2 separate regions of the Homo sapiens genome follow, and region 1 is linked to region 2. The links are contacts of gene promoters, found by promoter capture Hi-C in human tissues and cell types (Jung and others, 2019). All regions are on one chromosome and are shown on one strand. Each heading gives the region's core, a stretch centred on a gene start or on the middle of the fragment in contact. The rest is flanking DNA. Distances are from core to core; before and after follow the strand shown. Region 1 holds the start of TRIM14 (tripartite motif containing 14). Region 2 holds the start of GABBR2 (gamma-aminobutyric acid type B receptor subunit 2).

Region 1 (7,609 bases), core at 4,773-7,272, 590 kb before region 2:
AGGCCAGAGTCTGGGCTCCTGTGTTGGAACAACCAGGTTTTATCAGAGCATTGATCTGCTCTTTAATAGAAAATGGTGAGAGATTATCGATTATCTTATCTTGTGTAGTCAAAGCTGACTGAAATTGGATGATAGATAATATACTAACACCTAAGTAATTTTTTTCTTTTTTTGAGACAGGGTCTCACTTTGTCACCCAAGATGAAGTTCAGTGGTGCAATCTTGGCTCACTGCAGCCTTGACCTCCCAGGCTCAAGCAATCCTCCTGCCTCAGCCCCCCAAGTAGCTGGGACTATAGGCACACACCACCACACGCAGCTAATTTTTGTATCTTTTGTAGAGACAGGGTTTCACCATGTTGCTCAGGCTGGTTTTGAACTCCTGAGCTCAAGTGATCTGCCTGCCTTGGCCTCCCAAAGGGCTAGGATTACAGGCATGAGCCACTGTGCCTGGCCTAAAAGTAAAACTTGTTTTTCTCCTTTGAATAAAAATGTAATGTAGAATTAATAAGAGACGGTAAAAGATGTATTTACTTTTGCATAAATGGCAAAGAAAAGGTAACTGGGGAGAGTTTGTCCCATGCTGTCTTTATTAGGTCTCTTGATTGAGAACTGAATCTCCTCTATCAGAGTGGTTTTTGCTTTTTGAAATCTTTGAATAATCATTTTGGCTAAAGTAATTACCATTATTTTGTAGTGACCTGTGATTCTATTTTGATCATGTGTTTTAAACCTTTCTTATTTCTATATCAAGTGTTTTAAACCTTTAATATTTGAGATACTTCCCAAAATTAAATTAAGTCTTTTTGACCCAAGCTAACTTGGGCATAACCAGGACCCCTGGAAGTCCAAAAGAGACACATTAGGCTTATTTGGGATGTCAAAGTCATATGGGAAATATTGTCAAATAAGAAATGATGTTTAACTTTCTTTGAGTTATATTTATAAAAGCGTATTATTAATGTGTTCCAAAATTGTATGAGATTCCTAAAAGTCTGATATGTCTTGGTATATGTTATCAGTATATCATTATCATAATTATTATGATAAACTGGTGTGTGCCACACAAATAACCACATATCCTAGTCAATTTCATCTTTGACCGTGGCTATTCTAAGCCTTTTATCATCCACAGACAATTTGTTTTTTTTTTGAGACAGAGTCTCATTCTGTCGCCCAGGCTGGAGTGCAGTGGCGTAATCTCGGCTCACTGCAAGCTCCACCTCCCGGGTTCATGCCATTCTCCTGCCTCAGCCTCCCAAGTAGCTGGGACTACAGGTGCCCGCCACCACGCCTGGCTAATTTTTTTGTATTTTTAGTAGAGACAGGGTTTCACCATGGTCTCGATCTCCTGACCTCGTGATCGGCCCGCCTCAGCCTCCCAAAGTGCTGGGATTACAGGCGTGAGCCACCGCACCCAGCCGACAATTTTTATTTTACTTTGATTCTTTTAAAAAAAGTCGTTTATAATCAGCTACAAAATTTGCTTCATCTTTAAGGAAATTTTTGGAAAAAAACCCTGACAAGTACTCTTGAATACAGGTTTCTGGTAACTTCAGAGATCTTACCATTGGATTAAGCAAAAGCTTCCAGAACTCTAATAAAAACCTGAGGCATTCATGAAGACTGCTAACCCAACATCAAGCAGAGCAAGAATTATTTACATGGGACTAAACTGATAGAGGATAAAAGTGATTTTTATGATTTTTAAAATTTGAAACATTGCTGATTCTTTTTATATTGTTTTTCAGTCAAGAAAATTTTTTCTTTTGTCACAGCAACTGGATAAAAGATACTTTTGTGAGCAAAATTGAAACATTTGTCTTTCTCTCTACCTGATTTCACCAAAATTTGCAAACTATTTGTGTTTACTTTTTTTATTTTCATTTTTAAATTAATTTTTTTTTTTTAGACAGAGTCTTGCTCTGTCACCCAGGCTGGAGTGCAGTGGCATGATCTCGGCTCACTGCAACCTCTGCCTCCTAGGTTCAAGCGATTTTCCTGCCTCAGCCTCCTGAGTAGCTGGGACTACAGGTACATGCCACCACGCTTGGCTAATTTTTCTTTCTGAGGTGGAGTCTTTCTCTGTTGCCCAGGCTGGAGTGCAGTGGCACAATCTTGGCTCACTGCAACCTCTGCCTCGTGGGGTTCAAGCAGTTCTCCTGCCTCAGCCTCCCGAGTAGCTGGGATTACAGGTGCCCACCACCATGCCCAGCTAATTTTTGCATTCTTAGTAGAGATAGGTTTCACCATGTTGGTCATACTGGTCTCGAACTTCTGACCTCGTGATCCACCCACTTTGGCCTCCCAAAGTGCTAGGATTACAGGCGTGAGCCACTGAGCCCAGCACAATTTTTGTATTTTTAGTAAAGATGGGGTTTCACCATGTTGGCCAGGCTGATCTCCAACTCCTGACCTCAACTGATCCGCCCACCACAGCCTCCCAAAGTGCTGGGTTTACAGGCGTGAGCCACCGCACCTGGCTATTTGTGAGTATTCTTATTTTATGACAATATAGTTATTTGCATAAGTTCAATAAGAGTATGTTTTCTTTCATAACAGACCACATTGGAGACACTGGTAATTTTACCAAGGCTTTGACTGAAATGATATATCTTCATATATGATCAGACTGCTTTCAGGAACTGAAGTCAAGTTTACAGAGCCCATAAGAAGACCCTTGGGGGCCAGGCTTGGTGGCTCAGGTCTGTAATCCCAGCACTTTGGGAGGCTGAGGTAGGTGGATCACTTGAGTCCAGGAGTTTGAAACCAGCCTGGGCAACATAGTGAGACCCCGCCTCTATTAAAAAATGTTAACAAGAATAAAATAAAATACAATAAAAGGGGGCCCAGCACTTTGGGACACTGAGGTGGGCAGTTCACTTGAGGTCGGAGTTTTCAAGACCACCCTGGCCAACATGGTGAAGCCACATCTCTACCAACAAATACAAAAATTAGCCAGGAGTGGTGGTGCACACCTGTAGTTCCAGCTACTCAGGAAGCTGAAGTGGGAGAATCACTTGAACCTGGGAGGTGGAGGCTGCAGTGAGCCAAAATTGCACCACCACACTCCAGCCTGGGCAACAGAGTGAGACCCTGTCTCAAAAAAAAAAAAAAAAAAAAATCCTTGGAAAGACTGGACTAGCTTGGTCCTTGTCTACACAGTTCCCTTACAAGGTTCCCGACCTTGTGGTAAGAAAAGAATGTCACTTTCCGACAGGTCTAGGAACCTCAAGATATTTTGGGACCTTGAGAAGAGAATAATTCACCCAATGTGTATGGGTATCACAGGCATAGTCTGATGGTGAATCCTTGGTTTGGCTTTTTAGCTGTAAGGCTTTTAAAAGTCAAATCCAGGCCAGGCGTGGTGTTTCACGCCTATAATCCCAGCACTTTGGAAGGCTGAGGCAAGAGGATCACTTGAGCCCAGGAATTCTAGACCAGCCTGGACAACATGGTGAAACCCCGTCTCTACAAAAAAAATACAAAAAAAAAATTAGCCAGGTGTGGTGGTGCATACCTATAGTCCCAGCTACTTGGGAGGCCAAGGTAGGAGGATTGCTTGACCCTGGGAGGTGGAGGTTGCAGTGAGCCACGATCATGCCATTGCACTCTAGTCTGGGTGACAGAGTGAGACCCTGTGTCTCAAAAAAAAAAAAAAAAAAGTCAAATCCAAAATTCCTTATGAAAGTTCCAATAATGCAAATTATCAGGCCAAGTGTAATATTAAAACTTACTTTGCAAGTAAATTTGTCCTATCAAGACTCATTTTTGGTAAAAACAGGGAACTAGAGAGAGAAAAATTATGTTTCAGAAGAAAATCTTAGCACACCTGTTATGCACACCTGTTATTCCTGTTATTAGATTCCAGCCCTGGCCATTGTTTTTTAGTTTTTATTTTCCTGCAATTTGGACTAAATCCTGAATTATTTCCTGGCTACAACAAGGAAGGTTGTAGAAAAAGTTTTAGAAGCCAATTCCTGGCTTTTAAAGAAGGCTTGGGATTTTCTTCGTGATGTTTTTAGTTGACTCCCCAGTGGAATAGGTTTGGTGTTGTTCTGCCATAGAGATTCTCTGTTTTATTTATTTATTTATTTATTTATTTATTTATTTATTTAAGACAAAGTCTCACTCTGTCATCCAGGCTGGAGTGCGGTGGCGTGATCTCGGCTCATTGCAACCTCCATCTCCCAGGTTCAAGCGATTCTCATGCCTCAGCCTCCTGAGTAGCTGGGATTACAGATGTGTACCACCACACCTGGCTGATTTTCATATTTTTTAATAGAGACGGGGTTTCCCCATGTTGGCCAGGCCTCAAACCCTTGGCCTCATGTGATCCTCCTGCCTCAGCCTCCCAAAGTGCTGGGATTACAGGCATGAGCCACTGTGCCCGACTGCTTATGTCATTTTAATGTAAATTCTTGGTAAACAATTTAGGAACTGCTTCTTCTTTTTTCCTTAAAAACTTATATGTAACTGCTGCTAATCAGAGTGGATAGTCACAGAAATTTGAATCTATGGTCCCAGTTGGCCATCCTCAAGCTTTAGGCTTGGATAAACTCTGTACTTAATCATATTTTCTGAATCTTATTACTTCAAGTTGACAGTAGGTAGTGGGTAGGGGGATGGACAAATGGATGGGTGAGACTCTTGAGCCAGATCTGTGGAAAGCAGCCTTGTTAATTCTGAATAACAGTTTTTCAAGGAGCCATTATTATAATTACAGCCATTTCATACGTTAAAAAAAGGAAGGGTCTGGTGGCAGGGACAGGTCTTGAGCCCACGACTCCACTGGATTGTCCCCCATGATCCCCTTTTCACCTTGGAGTTCCAAGGTTGTCACAGTGTGGTGGTCTGGAGTCATGCAGTACCGGAGAAAGGCTCACGATGGGGCTGAATTCATCACAGAAGACTTCTTGGAGACAAGTGGTAGGATCAACAGCTGTCAGACATGAGGGCCTACCTCACCCAGGCTTCATGAAACCCAGAGAGAGAGAAGGATTTGAGAGAAGCCACAGAAAAAGTCAGCTGGGAAGCTGGAGCAGGAGCCCAGAGCCCCTGGGGCACTGTTAGGATTATGCATGGGTAAGGGTTCCACGGTGACAATGGCCCTGTTGGGGGCATCTGGCTAATGGAGTCCTGGGTTCAAGGCCTGCCCCTGCCTCCAGAGCCTTCCTCTTGTGGCCTATAAAATGGCTGTAATAATAATGGCTCACCCAGGGCTGCTATGAGCAGGAATGGGAGTGTCTGTGTGGCCGGGGAGGGGAGAGGAGGTAGGTAGTGACAGCTGAGGCTGCTCCCAGGGCAGTCAGGCCGTCCTCAGCTCAAAGTTCACAGGCCCTTTCTGTGGACTGCAGATTAAGTAAACCTGAGATGTCTGTGTGGCTTTCTGAGCTACACAGGGCTGTTTATTAAGAGGGAGAGTTTGTACCTCTGTTAACTAAAAGGCAGACTGTCTTCCAGCCCAATGGCAGTGTGGCGGATCGGCCATGGTGGACACGGTCAAGGACATCTGGGTACCAGCCTGGGCTCCCAACCTCTCACTCCTAAACCCACCTTTTCTGAAGCTCAACTGATGGCTTTGGCTCGCCTTTGCCCTTCCTTGGGTCTCAGGCTCCCGCTCTGAACTTTCGGTCGACCGCTTAGACGCCCTCTGGGGCACCTTTGGTTTCCAGGTTGTAACCCGCCACTGGCCACGGCCAGGCACGCCCCCTCCTCGGCCGTTATGCCTGGGCTGGCTCCCCCAACTCCCGCGCGGCGAACCCCGTCCCCATCGTCCCCACCTGCACGTGCACCGCTGCCTCCAGCGCCAGGCCCACAGGGTGGCCACGGTGCGCGCCCAGCACCGGGCAAAGCGCGCACACGCAGCGGCGGCAGCGGCGACAGAAGAGCTCAGCCACGCGGTCGCCATGCTCCGGGCAGCGCCAGCCGCATCCCTCGACAAGCTCCGACCTCCCAGGGGTCCGGCTCCCGGTCGCCGCGCCCGCCATTCATCTCCACCTCCTCCGGCTCCCCGGGACACAGGGCGGGGCTCCCAAGGGAAACCGAAACCTCGGCCGTGGGCGGGGCGGCTCCAGGCCGGCCGGCCGACCCCTAGGAGGATGACAGCCCGCCGGGAGCAGCGTCGGGCCTCGGAGCATCCTCCGACCAGCAGGGTGCTCCCTCTGCCCGCCCAGGCCGGGAGGTGGTCCCACCAGAAATGGGAAGCTCCTAATGAGCCAGCTAGGAGAGGGTGGGCTTCCTGCTTAATGACGCTGTTCCAGTAACGCCCAGAAAACTGCAGCCCTGATGATGGGACCAAAGTTGGCTGTGACCTTCCGGGGGTGCTCCTCTCACTTTCCCTTGATCCTCTCTTGCCCTTTTCCCCGGAAAGATAATCATTCCCACAACTGTAAGATACCTTCATCAACCTCAAATAAGGACACAGAGATTCTCCAATTGAGTTTATTTCGGACTGAGCAGAAGGATTGCAATTCGGGAATAAATGTGCCATGGCACCCAAGGGGTGGGGACGCGGAGTACTCAGGGAGGCAAAGGAAAGCAGAGGCTTTTAAAGGCAAAACGAGGAGGATTGCATATACTGTTTTTTTTGTTTGTTTGTTTGTTTTTGTTTTTTTTTTTTTTTTTTTTTTTTGGAGACGGAGTCTCGGTCTGTCGCCCAGGCTGGAGTGCAGTGGCGCCATCTCTGCTCACTGCAAGCTCCGCCTCCCGGGTTCACGCCATTCTCCTGCTTCAGCCTCCCGAGTAGCTGGAACTACAGGCGCCCGCCACCACGCCCGGCTAATTTTTTGTATTTTTAGTAGAAAAGGGGTTTCACTGTTTTAGCCAGGATGGTCTCGATCTCCTGACCCCGTGATCTGCCCGCCTCGGCCTCCCAAAGTGCTGGGATTACAGGCGTGATCCACCGCGCCCGGCCAGATCGTTTTAAAATAATAATACTTGGTTACAAGAATTAATACAGGTGGCTTCAGTCCAAAAGTTGAACAGGCAGTTGCTGGGCAGATGTCCTCATATCATGGCTTTTGTGCAAGGTTGTGGTTCTTTGTGCAAGGTTGCAGTTTGGTGGAATCTTTTGCAATAATAGTTCCTGTTACCAGGCAAATCGTTGATGAGGGCCCCCCACTTCATGGCCTCCCAGCACCATTTAGTTTGTTTGAGACAGGATCTCGCTCTGTTGCCCAGGCTGGAGTGCAATAGTGCGATCATAGCTCACTGCAGCCTCTAACTCCTGGGCTCAAGTGATCTTCCCACCTCATCTCTGGAGTAGCTGGGACTACAGGAGCACCATTTAGTTTGGTTTTGATGTAAGTGACTCTGTTTTGGTACTGACAACTTTCACACACACACCACCACCCCAAATTCCAGTTGCCCCCCCAGGCTCAAGTCTAGACTTCCACTTATAAAGCCCTCAGCTCTTTCTTAAGATCCTTGGTCTCCGCCCTGCCTATGCTCCACCCTGTGCTTTTTCAAGACTGGGGGACGTGCAGTTTACCCTGCTTGGAACATTCTTCTTCCCAAATGCCCTTTGCCCTGAGTATTCCAACTTACTCTGCAGGTTTCTACCTTACTATCTTTTCCTCCAGGAAGCCTTCCCTCCTTCTCCTTCCAGA
Region 2 (7,250 bases), core at 4,220-6,719:
TCACGTTCTTTTTAAAATTTTTAAATTTTATTTCGTTTTATTTTTGAGACAGAGTCTTGCTCTGTTGCCCAGGCTAGAGTGCAGCAGCACAATCACAGCTTACTGTAGCCTTTACCTCCTAGGCTCTAGCAATCCTCCTGCCTCAACCTCCCTAGTGGCTGGGACCACAGGCACATACCACCATGTCAGGCTAATTTTTTATTTTATGTAGAGACAGGGTCTCCCTATGTTGCTCAGGCTGGTCTTGAACTCCTTGGCCTCAAGCAATCCTCTCACCTCAGCACCCCCAAAATGCTGAGATTACAGGCATGAGCCACCACACTCAGTCTATCTTTTTATTTTTAAATAAAAATAAATTTATTTTTTAATAAAATTAAAAATTTATATTTTATTGTATTGAGATTTAGTTAACTGTATTGAGATTTAATACAGTTAAATCTGTACTGAGATTTAATTAACTTATACACTTTAAAAGAGTGATTTATATATATATATATAAAGTGTATAATTCCATGGTTTTTAGTACATTCACAGAATTATGCAACCATCTCCACTATCATTCTCTACCTTGCATTAGAAATGATGAATACGTTCTTGCCCTGTTCTCTGTTCACCAGCTGCCTCTCTCAAACCCGGGGCTATGTTTTACACCTTTCTGCAGCATCAACAGCTCCAGTAGGTGCTCAGTAAACACCTGCTGAGCTGTACTCAGACCTTTTTAGGAAGCACAGCCTCAATTCAACAGTCCTTTAAATCCTTTTTAAAGCATAGTGAATAAGGGAAAAGATATTTGGCAAAGCCACTCAAGAAAAAAGACATGCTCAACAATCACTGGGATTTCTACATTGGATCTTGGCATCAGGGTGGTCTTTCTGACAGTTGTACCCCTAGACTGGGCTCCTTGGCTCCCTGAACTTTCTCTAAGTTTATTATTGAATGATTTAAGATAGTAACACATGAGAAAACATATAGGTCCAACAATAGGGGAATGATTAAATACGTATGGTTCACCCACAGGATAGAATAGTATACAGCCACCAAAAATCATCTTTACAAGGAGGATTTGAGGACATGGGGAAAAACCCATGATACAATGTTAACTGAAGGAAAAAAACATAAAAGAGCACATGGAGTATGATCTCAAGTACATAAAATAGTAAAAAATGACAACTGGAAGGGAATGATGCTAATTATTAGATGTTATTATTTTTGTGTAGATGGATTATGGGCAATTATTTTTCTTTATGCTTCTCTGTAATTTTCAGCTTTTCCACAATGAACATTAATCAAATTGAAAAAAAATATCTTTAACTCATTCCTTGGCTATTATTTTATTTTATTAGTGTGGCTAGAATAAGAAACAATCACATGGAGAACATTTCTGAAGACAGGAAGATCACTTGAGCCCAGGAGTTCAAGGCTGCAGTGAGCTATGATGTACCACTGCAGTCTGGCTTGAGCAAGAGAATGAGACCCCCAACTCTTTCAAAAAAAAAAAAAAAAGTCATTGTCTCTCAGATTTTTTAGATCAAACATTAAGTAATATGGTACATTTACCTTTTTACCTTGACTGCCAGGAAGCTCAGAGCTAAAATATAATACTCAATGCAATAAATTTTAGCCCAGGTTCTTGGTATAGTAACTTCTATGCTTCTACATAGTTTCTGATGCTTTCTTTTATCTGTATTTTCAGTTGTCTTGCTTGTTCAAATCCTCATTGGAATATATAAACGAGTATTTGCTGAAGCCATTTGGTGTTACACCAGAGAAGCAGAGGTTCTGATAGACAGGTATTCTGTTAGGCTGTTTCATTTTTACCAACACATGGCATTGAGTGAGGTTTTGAAAATCTACCACTATTCTACTTACAGAAGAGAGTCAATCTGGTTGTAGGAGGCTCCTTTATTGAGACAGATTGTCCCCAGGGACCAGATTAACCCATTCCTTGCTAAATCTCCATCTCTCTGCAGATCATATGGATAAAGGTCCATACTGGTGCCCATAGTCACTGGCCATTGAGGCCACTGATTGACAGCAAATGTCAGCAAATCCAGCCAAAATCTGTTCACCACATCCACCCTGTGTTAAAGTCTACAAACAATGTGACACAGCCTGCAAATAATTAGGCAGTGTCCACAAAGACAGCCAATCTGAATAAACTAGACCCTAAACACTCTAACACTAGCCACAAACATTCTTTAGATCGCTCTAGATTTTGCTGCAAATTACCTAGACTGATCCTTCCTTCACTCTGGCTCAGGGAGAAAGCACCTCTACTTTAAAGATAAGGCCACTTGTGAATTCACAGGAAATAAAAATGAAGGAAGGGAGCTGGGCACGGTGGCTCATGCCTGTAATCCCAGCACTTTGGGAGGCAGAGGTGGGCAGATCACCTGAGGTCGGGAGTTCAAGACCAGCCCGACCAACATGGAGAAACCCCATCTCTACTAAAAATACAAAATTAGCTGGGCATGGTGGCACATGCCTGTAATCCCAGCTACACGGGAGGCTGAGGCAGGAGAATCACTTGACCCTGGGAGGTGGAGGTTGCGGTGAGCCAAGATCACGCCAATGCACTCCAGCCTGGGCAACAAGAGCAAAACTCTATCTCAAAAAAACAAAAACAAAACAAAACAAAAAAAACAAAAAAAAAAAAAAAAAGAAGGAGGAGGAGGAGGGGAGGCAGCAGGACACATTTATTTAGTGCTTACAGCATGCCAGAGCACTGGCCGCTGAGCCTGCCAGCTCAGGGCATCTTCTACCCTGGCCTGTTATCTTCCTTAAGCTGTGTGTCACCTGCAGAGTACACATAATATTCCCACCTAGGCTTAGAGAGATTAAATACCCAGCTCAAGGTCATCCAGGGTGGAAAGTAACCAGTTTCTCACTAAAACCCAGGCCCCACCTACCCCAAAGCCCTGGCTCTGGGCCCCTTCAAAAGGCTAGAGACACTTCTCTGTTTGCACGAAGCTAAAATTATCTTCTGTCTTCCTTCCCACTGTTTTCTAAATATTCCCACGAATTGAAGAGTCTTCTGACTGTCTCATCCTCTTGACTTTGGGTCCTTTCACTCAGAAAGTCATCAAGACACACTCGAAAAATAAAATGTAAAGGCTTCAACCCACACCCTGAAACGAAGCACCCATCTCTTTGCTGCCACAAACAGGCCAGTATGAAATCTCTTTCAGGGAAGCTTTCTAAAGGGAAGAAACTGATGATGAAAACATTATGCAGCTGACAATACTTGGTGATGATGCAAGCAGGGCTGCCCTATCTAAAAATGTGTTTGTCCCCAAAAGACCGGCTTTGCAGTGACCCCTCCAGAAGAATATGTGCAGTAGCAACAGAGAAACTGTCAAGAAGATATGCCTCCGTGTAACTGCATTGCTGTCTCCATTTATGTGTGCCAGACAAGTACCCCCACAGAACTTGAGATGCTCAGGCAAAGACGAGGGCGATAGGAATGTCATTCGGAAATGATTTCACACCGGGTTAGCCCTGCACAGCCAGCCAGCTTGCATCCTCTGGGGCAGAGGACGCCTCTCCGCCTGCAGCAGCCTGCGCGTACCGCTGCCAACTGCCACCGGTTCCTTCACCTTTTATTTACAGCGCAGAGCAAGCTGGTTCACCGGTGAAGCGGGGGAGGCAGGGAATAAGATACAATCTAGATTCTGCTCTTTCTCTGGGGACATAAAGAGGGTCCGACCAAGGAGGAGGGGAAGCCCAGATTGCACCACCAGAGCAGTAGCGCGACCCTCCTCCCAAAAGGGTTCTGCACCTGGACTCCAGCAGAAGCGCCCGGAGAGTCCCAGGAAGCCAGGATCAAGCCCAGCGCCTCGGCCCCGTTCCGCGCGATGGAAGAGGCGCCAACCGAGCGTACTGCACAGGAAATCACTGCCCCCTTCAGGCCGCGTCTCAGACGCTGCGGTCGGAGCACAGGGGCTCGCTCGGTCCGGAAAAACTCGCAAACCCGACCTTGCGCGGCCAGCGATCGCTCCTCCAGACCCGCTCCGCGCGCTCCAGCCCCGGCCTGGCGGTGAAGGTCCGCTCTGGGGCTTCAGGCAGAACCCAAACCGAGGGCGTGGGGAGGGGTCTTGGGATGGAAAGCCCTTGGCTCTCTGGCTCCGCTCCGGACTGCTCTCCAAGTCTGTGCTCCGGCTGCTAGGTCGGATGCTTCAAGCCTGAGCCGTGAGAAACTGCCTGCAGCCGCCCGGCCAACAGCAGCGGCGCGGCCGGACACCACTGCACGTCCGGGACGAGAACTGCCAGGGCACTTTCTGAGCAACTAACCCGAGGCAGGGGTCTCCTGAAATCGCTCTGGCCACAGGCAGCGCCGGGCACGTCCAGGCAGAAGCGCTGCAGAGCCGGTGGCCCCACACTTGCCCGCGCGGAGCGGGCTCAGAGCTGCTGGCGCGCACCAGGCGCCCAGCCACGCTGCACGCTCAAGCCCCTTGGGTTCCGGAGCCTTCCGGACCTCAAAGCGCGGCTCGGCTTCCCTGGGGGCCTGTGAGCAGGCCCGCGGCCCCTCCGGCCCTGGGTGGCCCAGTTTGCAGTCAATGCGCCTGTTCCTCCCACTCGGTACCTCGCAGCCCCATGAGCGGGACCTGGACAGGGACAATCAATGTAGGCCTTTGGGGGTCCAGCCCCCACCTTCTCCACTCCTTTTTCTCTGGTCAAAAGAGACCCCAGTCTTCTATCCCACCCCCACCCCTCCCCACACACACATACACACATAAGACCAGAGGAGGGGGTGCTTGGCAAATGTTACCAGCTGTGCCAGCCAAGCCCAGCAGGACCGCGGGGGTGAACACTGGGCACCAGCCCTCTCTGCCCTCGGCAGGCGCGGGCCGGTCAATCGGGGATCTGACCAAAGGCCGGAGGTTGCCTGTGTCCAAACCACCCACCCCAATGCCCCCCGAAGCCCCGACGGCAGGGGCAGCCGGACACTCACCTCCGTGTCATAGAGCCGCAGGTCGAGGAAGTAGGGGCGCAGGAGTGACTCGTTGCGGATCTGCTCGATGGCCAGTTCCACGGCGGGGAGCACACCGCGCCCGATGCTGCCCTTGGCCACCTCCTTGGTGAGCGGCATGAGGCCCATGATGGAGAGCGGCGGGCTGCTGGGCGGCGGCCGGGGGGCGCCCCGCGCCCAGCCCCAGGCCCCGGGCGCCAGAGGCAGCAGCAGCGGCAGCAGCAGTAGCAGTAGCAGGCGCGCGGGCGGCGGTGGCGGCGGCGGCGGCGGCCCGGGCTGCCCGGAGCTCCGCGGGGAAGCCATGCCGCGCCGCGGGCTGCGGGCGCCGGCTCACTCGGCCCGCATGGCCTGGCCCGGCCCGCCGCCCCGCGCCAAGGTCTTCCCGCGGCGCCCGCGCAATGGCGCCGGCCCGGGCCCCGGCTCCGTCTCGGGCTAGGGTTCCGGCTCGGCTCAGAACGGCCGCGGCGGCGGCGGCGGCAGCGGCGGCGCCCGTGACGGATCAATCACGCCGGGAAGGGGTGGGAGCGAGCGGAGTGCGGGAGGCGGGGAGCAAGCGAGCAAACGCGGAGAGGGGGGCCGGCGTCTCCGCGCGCGCCTCTCTCCAGCGCGGCCGCCCCGCACCGGGCCGCCTCCGCCCGCCCCCGTGCGCGCTCTGAACCGCTCTCCCGCCGGGAGCTGCTAGGCGGCAGCCCCTGGAGCTCGGCCGGGGGAGGGCGGACGGCAGGAAACGCGGGAGGCGAAGGCGAGGCTGCTCAGGGGCGGCTCGGGCCGCCTCCAGGGACGGGGACGAGCCGTGCGCGCCGGGGGAGGGGGAGGCGCTGGCGCTGCGGCGGCCGCGGGGAGGGCCACCTTCCCAGCACACGCACACACGCGCCCCCGGCCCTCCGCTGCGCCAGCTGCCGCTGCCCGCCGACCGCTGACCTCCAGGCACCAGAGCGCCCGGGGACAGCGATCTGGGAACCGGGACCGCGCGCTGGCACACGCAGTGGCCGCCGCCGCTCCGCCGAGCGCTGCCTGTAGCACCTGCACGGTGGTTTGGAACCGCTTCTCGGAGGTCTGGCCGGGAAGGTCTGGGCAGGAGAATGTTCCACGAAGGCGTCCCAGAGGCATCTGCAGCCTACGCTCTCCCGTTCTTTTCTGGCGCCCACGAGCCCCTGACCGAGTCCCGGGGGTCGCTGAAGACGCCCACGGGTGCTCGAACGCCCGTTGGTGCCAGGCTGCCCGGCCTTTAGGGCCTTGGCTGAGGACACCCCTTTCCTCCCCACCAGACGGAGCGACCGCCCTTTGCCAACCCCAAGCAAAGCTGGGGTCCCAACCTTACGTGCGCTACCGCCCCCTCCAGGCATTTGACCTCCCCGCGTCCCCATTCTTGATGGGCCCCGCCCTAGAAGTCTCCCGGGGTGGGAGCACTATCCTCAGGCCAGGGCGGGGCCGCGCGCCCCTGGACTTGGCCCTCTCTCTGCCAGGTCGCACTGGCCAATCTTAGCCAAAGCAGTCCCGAGCCAGATGTACCCGAGTGAGCTGACCTAAGACCTTGGGTTCCTTGTGCCTCTGCATACTTCAAGAATAGGAAACGTGATCATTAATCTATAAAGTCCCAGGGGCTGATTAATGCGAGGAACACAGTAGGACATCAAATCACAAAACATACTTGAGCCTGAACCAGGGACTGTGGAAGATATCGACGACCTTGTAACAAGAATGGAAGTTTGACCTTCGCTGAGTACTTACTGTGTGCCTTATGATGTAATCCCCACAACTGCCCTGTAAGCATACTGTGTTACTCACCCTTACTTTACAGGCGAATACACTGGTGCTCAGAGAGGTTCTGTAGCTAGTGGAAGCACACAGAGCTACTGAAGGACCGGAACCCAGAGCCAGCAGGAACTCCGTGCACAGTGCAGTGGGAGCCAGGGATGTGGGACTGCAAGTTTCCTCTCCAGGAGGAGCACTGCCCTGACTCAGTTGCTCTGGACATCGATTCCCTCCGGCATATGGTGAGGGATTTGGACCGGATGATGATGATGATGGCCACACACCAGCTCTACTGGAGTGAGGCAAGGGCAGCTCTGAATCCAGGCTGAGTTGTTAGGAAGCACAAAGATGTGAGTGGAGGCTGAGCAGAACTACTAGAGAGTACCTTGGACAGCGCCAGGGAAACCAGGCCAAATTCTCTCTGCCCTAACTTCTCTTTCCAGGCTTCTATAGACTCCACCTCTCCCGGCTCCACTTGGCATTTCCTTTTCCCCAAGCTGGAGGGTTTGCATGAACAGAACTCACC

Evidence for each region. Contacts are between HindIII fragments. The study calls those that stand out against the background at their distance.
Region 1: the fragment with the promoter of TRIM14 here is called in contact with the fragment with the promoter of GABBR2 in region 2 in 3 of the 25 tissues and cell types used here (IMR-90 fibroblasts, adrenal gland and mesendoderm cells).

The regions. Positions count from the first base shown.
Region 1 is chr9:98,113,200-98,120,808 of GRCh38, forward strand. TRIM14 (tripartite motif containing 14) reads right to left here and starts at 6,023. Exons shown (of 6, transcript NM_014788.4): 1 at 5,783-6,023. The coding sequence starts at 5,989. RefSeq lists an enhancer at 5,497-5,546 and a silencer at 5,857-5,956. The HindIII fragment of the contact is 7,744 bases long and covers 3,064-7,609 here.
Region 2 is chr9:98,703,466-98,710,715 of GRCh38, forward strand. It overlaps GABBR2 (gamma-aminobutyric acid type B receptor subunit 2), which reads right to left and starts at 5,470. Exons shown (of 19, transcript NM_005458.8): 1 at 4,952-5,470. The coding sequence starts at 5,272. RefSeq lists enhancers at 3,096-3,667, 4,239-4,809, 6,562-6,856. The HindIII fragment of the contact is 12,748 bases long and covers 1-7,250 here.